2 separate regions of the Homo sapiens genome follow, and region 2 is linked to region 1. The links are contacts of gene promoters, found by promoter capture Hi-C in blood cells and fetal thymus (Javierre and others, 2016). All regions are on one chromosome and are shown on one strand. Each heading gives the region's core, a stretch centred on a gene start or on the middle of the fragment in contact. The rest is flanking DNA. Distances are from core to core; before and after follow the strand shown.

What was found. Contacts are between HindIII fragments. The CHiCAGO score rates a contact against its expected background, and 5 or more counts as called.
Region 2: a fragment that was not itself captured here is called in contact with the fragment with the promoter of STAMBPL1 in region 1 in 1 of 17 cell types (fetal thymus); the score reaches 6.1 in fetal thymus.

Annotation. Positions count from the first base shown.
Region 1 is chr10:88,878,834-88,881,533 of GRCh38, forward strand. STAMBPL1 (STAM binding protein like 1) reads left to right here and starts at 1,412. Exons shown (of 11, transcript NM_020799.4): 1 at 1,412-1,805. LOC124902551 reads right to left here and starts at 1,831. Exons shown (of 1, transcript XM_047426134.1): 1 at 901-1,831. The coding sequence starts at 1,589. The coding sequence ends at 1,062. RefSeq lists a silencer at 1,301-1,430 and an enhancer at 2,011-2,120. The HindIII fragment of the contact is 2,730 bases long and covers 1-2,354 here.
Region 2 is chr10:87,859,025-87,861,724 of GRCh38, forward strand. KLLN (killin, p53 regulated DNA replication inhibitor) reads right to left here. Exons shown (of 1, transcript NM_001126049.2): 1 at 134-2,700. Among named protein-coding and RNA genes, the nearest start is that of KLLN, 3.2 kb to the right of the region's middle. The HindIII fragment of the contact is 1,373 bases long and covers 661-2,033 here.

The sequences.
Region 1 (2,700 bases), core at 162-2,661:
TGGCTAACCTTCTTAATTACCACTGAATTTTAAATTGTCCAGTAGGTCATGAGATTATCTGGTTCAATACTGCAAACTCAAATGCCTACCATATTCTCAAATGTCAGTGAGGTGGGGGTGTATGGGAGTGGTGGGGACTGTGGAAAACTGAAGAGTGTCTTCACAGTCTAAAGGCGACACCTGCTATTCAGCTTCAGCTGATGGTTGCTAGAACTCGCCATGGACCAAATGTCTGATGTTACGATTTTACAGAAAATGTGAAAAGTCTGAATTTCTGTGAAATTTCCTAACTTCAACATTTGGAACCAACTTAAAACTAAGCAAAACAACACTGTTGCTTCTTAAAAATCAAGGCTGCAGGCTGCCTCCAACAATCAAACTCTTCATTTAAAAAAAAAAAAAGAATCCAGGGAGATGAGGCTTAAGAAGGTGAAATGCTTGAGACCAAATAACTCAGTTGGTGGCTGAGCCAGGGCTAGAATTTTGGTTTCCAGAGGAAAGGCTAACTAAGAAAAGCCAGTGTTTCCCCACCCCACTCTGCAGCCATTTCTCTCACTTGGAAGTAAGCTCCCAACCAAGCTCAAGAAAAGCGACTCTATTTCATCCAGCAGCAGCAGTCTCCATAAAATGTTTATCAGTTAATAGAACCTGTGAAGCCAATAGAAACAGCTTTCAGTGTTGGATCAGAGTTTAAATTTCAGCTTCTACTGCTTTCTAGGTGAGTAACCTGGGATAAATTATTTTACTTCTCTGTCTCTCGTTCATGGAAAAAACAAAAACAAAAACAAAAAATGAGTCCCTTTTATATACAGGGTTGTGGCAGATGGACTAAGATTTTGTGTACCGACTGCCTGACACAGTGCCAGAACTGTAGTAAGAACACCACACGTGATAGTAACATAACATCCAGGAGATATTCTAATACTTCTTATTTTCCAAGTACACACAAATTGGGGGTAGGGGGAAGGGCTAAGATGCTTAATAGTGGGCGTAGCCAGTTGTGGATAAATATCAAAAAGGGAATCCTAACATGAAGTATAAGTGGGATTTTCACCAAAACCCTATCCTTCCCCAGACTCCAGTGACAGTTTAACGGTCAGCTGCATCAAGGCTTGTGTACTGTGCAGTCTTAAAAGGCACCACTCCTGTCCATCTCGGTGAAATTGATGGTGGAGCAAAAGGGAGTTTAGGTGGTTCCGGTCTGGGGAGAAGACGTGCAGGGTTTCAGATGCGAAAGTCGCACCCAACCGCTTCACTCGGGCTCTAGGCCATCCGCAGGGGCCCTGCTTCCTTCCACCTGCGAGCTTTTTCTGCAGAATGCGGGAAGCCGCCGCCGCCGCCACAGAGGAGGGGGCGGAGGCAGAGGCGGAGGCGGCACCCAGGGGCCGGGGCAGGGGAGGCCGGGACCATCGCAGTGACAATTTATTTTCCTGCAGCAGCGGCAGCAGGGACGGTTGCTGCAGGTTCGGGGTCGGCCGGCCTGCGCGTGGGCTTGCGAGGACGCTGTTCGTCCCCTGCGCTGGGGTGTCCGACAGCGAGGAGGAGAACGACGCACGGAGCCCGCGCGACTGGAACCAGCAAAGCTCCATCTGTCGGCAGAGGAGAAGGGGGAGGAGGCACGGCCGAGGCAAACGAGCGGACGCCTCGTCGCCGGGTGCCGGTATCACCCCGCTGCAACGCCTTCCAGCAAAAGCCACCGCGGCCCGGGTTGCAGCAGCCGGACGGATGCCAAGGCCACACGGCAGCCACGGGGGCAGCCGTCGCAGTCGCCGTCCCACACGGGCTGCGGACACCAAGGGTTGCTAGTGAGTAGCGGCGCGCGCGCGTGAGTGAGAGCGCGCACCGGACGGGGAAGTGCGCACGGCGGGTGCGTCTGCCTCGTGGCCTGGCGCGCGCCGGCCCTTCCGCTGGCAGCGTCCGGTCCCGGGCTGGCTCTAGGGGAGGAAAAAATGCACTTTGGCGGCTGATCGCTTCCTTCCTGCCAGTCATGCAATCGGCCGCCTCCATCGGCGCCGCCTGTATGCGCCCCTCCGCTGGGCCCTCTGGGTTAGTTTCACCTTGATAGGGAGGCAGGAAGACCTGGCTGCTGGTGGCAGGGCGGGACTCTGGCCGTGACCTATACGTGGGTGCGCCTGTTTTTTTGGTTCAGCCCTGGGTTGCAGCCTTGGAGATGATGTCGACCTTGGGAGAGACCACTGCACTGTCTCTAGCGGCGCGGTGTGGAGGAGGGAGGGGCGAGGGTTAGAAAAACGGACCTTTACCCCGGCCGAGCAGGTGCCATGCCTTTCCAGATGATGTTACTTTTATGCCCTTTATGAGCGACTAAGACATTGCCCCTCACCTGAATAACTTAAAGCTTTCGCTGAAAGCCCCCAGTGAGATGCACAAAGAAATGGAATGTCTCCAAAACATATTTTTTTCAGAACTTTCTCTAAAACAACCCACGCTGCTGATACCCCCAGAGCCTAAGGTGCCATAATTGCTGAAGTTTAAAAGAAAATTTATGTAAGGAATAAGTAATTCAGGAAACGGAACCCAATCTAGAGGTTTGAAAAAAAAAATCAAGTGCCTGGGAAGTGGGGTGGGGTGGCTTGCTTCCTGGAAATCAGTGTTCGGTAGTAAGTAAAAAAGACAGCTTTCAAAGTAAGCCCCAGTGAGCACACTGCTTTCCAAACATCTTGCTCATTACTGACAATAACA
Region 2 (2,700 bases), core at 97-2,596, 1.0 Mb before region 1:
TACCAAGATGTGAAAGATGACACCATGGCATCTGAAATAGCTTCAGGAGAGATTTGGGACATGGGAAGCTTGTAGACAATAATGGAAAATTCTCTTTTAGAATATAGTTACTTGTATGACCCACAGTAGCGCCTTTTGGAGAATGTCTTAAAATTATCTTTATTGAAAGAACAATAATGTTTGTTATTAGGATAAATGAAATAAGGGGAAAACCTCAGACCCTTGGAACAATGGGTTTACATTCAATCCAATGATTATTATGTTTTTATATTCTGTATTATTTAGAAAACAGTAGTTAAACAGACAGAAATACAGAAGATTGTTTAAAAATTAAAGCTATTGAGTTAGATCCCTTTTTGAAAGGTCAGCGTATGGGAGATGAGAAAGGCACTATAGAGATCAGAGTGTTTACACAAAAGACATCTTAGCAGATGACCTACAAAGAGCACATCAAGTATTTATATCATCCACATCAAGTTGCTGGTCATTTCGCTTATCAAAGAAAATAAGAAAGAAATTTTCTTTCGACATTATTTTGGTGTAGTAACAATAGAGTTTTGGAATCAGCTGTTAGAAGCGATAATTAAAGCTAGTTTACCATGCTTACTAATCAATCTACATAGTCACCCTGAAGCTTTATATAATTGTCCCTTTGTTACAAGCTTCTACTTCTCCCTATGGTATTCTGGTTCTGAATCCAGACAGGTAAAGAACTAAGTATGGCCGGGCGCGGTGGCTCACGCCTGTAATCCCAGCACTTTGGGAGGCCGTGGCGGGCAGATCACGAGGTCAGGAGATCGAGACCATCCTGACCAACATGGTGAAACCCTGTCTTTACTAAACTACAAAAAATTAGCCCGGCATGATGGTGTGCGCCTGTAGTCCCAGCTACTCGGGAGGCTGAGGCAGGGGAATTGCTTGAACCTGGGAGGCAGAGGTTGCAGTGAACCGAGATCATGCCACTGCACTCCAGCCTGTGAGACTCCGTCTCAAAAAAAAAAAAAAAAAAAGAAAAAAAAAAAAAGAACTGAAGTGCTTGGAGACCAGTGTATTGTAATATCTATACAGCCAAGCAGGTATTTTCAACTGAACTTTAAAAAAGTACTATTTTTGAAACTTTCTTTAGTTTAGATAGGGCCAGCCATTTGGGTAGAAAGGAAAAGAAAAACAAAAAATTGGAAAAGGATGCATCAGTATTTCTTTCAGAAACAACTTAACACTAGGAACAGAAGGAGGATTTTATTCACCAACTCCTAATAACCACCTGATGTTGCTGTTGGGCTGGCCAAATATCTGCCAACATTGATGATCCTTTCATTCACCACTAGAGAGAAGTAGAGGGACCTGATGTTTAGAGAAGCAGTAAAACCCATTTCCCATTTTCTTTCTTCAGCCGGATGGAAGTACTTGGAGGCTGGTCTCATATTCTAGCACTTTAGTGCTGGTGATGCAGATTATCTCTGCTCCAGAGTAACTCTGTGCCATGGAATCCAAGAGGATTCTGTCGCACCAGGACAGGAATGCACCCTTGTTTCATTTGCTTCCATGAAAGCAGATTTCAGAGATTCTCAGATGCTATGAGACTAATTGTCACTTAGGGTAGGCTCCAGGGGAGGGACAGAGAAGGGCAGTGCTAATAACAGGGACTCTGGAGACAAGATCAGCAATCTAAGAAACAAATGTGAGACATTTTACCCCTCCCTAATCTACTCCCCTTTTAAAAGTTCATCTTCATTTTCCCTTTTTCTACCACGCAGTAATTGATAATTAAACACAGCTCTGGTTTTTACCATGCAATCTAGTAGAACACCTAGACATCAGGAACTCCTTATCTTTGGTTATTTATACAATAATGAAATCTGTAGTTCACGCTAGGCTGTGTGGACAGTATCTGCATCTCTGGAAATCAACTGGAGGCCTTTCTCTTACTCTTTTCCGGTTGCTTTCCATTTCCTTTTCCACTGTGGTCCTTGCCTTTCCCAAGCTGACCAGAACTATGCACAAAACCAGTCTTCAATAAATATCAACACTGAAGCTTCAGCAGGTTGTTAACTCCTGCACAGCTATCTTAAATGCTGTATATAAGTGCAAAGTTTTATGGAGCCTCAGAGGTCTCTAAGAACACTGTAAATATCCCAGGTTTAATTAGTAGTCCCGGAGTTAGGTAATGGCCTGTGGCTTTCTGCGCTAGGTCTCTTGAGGTTTCTAGTCTTCAGAGGTTGCCTGCAACTATGATGTGCACATATACAGTACTCTTTCTCAAATACAGCATAAACCCTCTTTAGACTTTGCTAGGCACTTACAATTATTGAACACACATGCAGATTGATTCTCATTCTCTCAAAGTTTGAAAAACAACTCAGTGCTTCAACCTAGGTCTCGTTAGATATTTTTTGACTCAAATTGTCGTCTGTAGTTCTACTTCCTAAGGGAAATGAAAAAACAATAAATTCCCAGACTGGTGTTGATGCTCATTCTCTTTAAGCGGGTCGACTACTTGCTTTGTAGATCCTTGACGGGTGGGGTGCGGGGTAGGAGTGCGATCCAACTCTCAGCATTTCCGAATCAGCTCTCTCACGGTGACAGGTCAGCCCAATCGGGGCTGTAAACAGACTTGACAGGTTTGTTCTGGGCTGACGGCCATTGACTAGGTTCTCAGACCAGATAAGTCACTTGGCTGAGTCCACAGTAGGTGGGGCG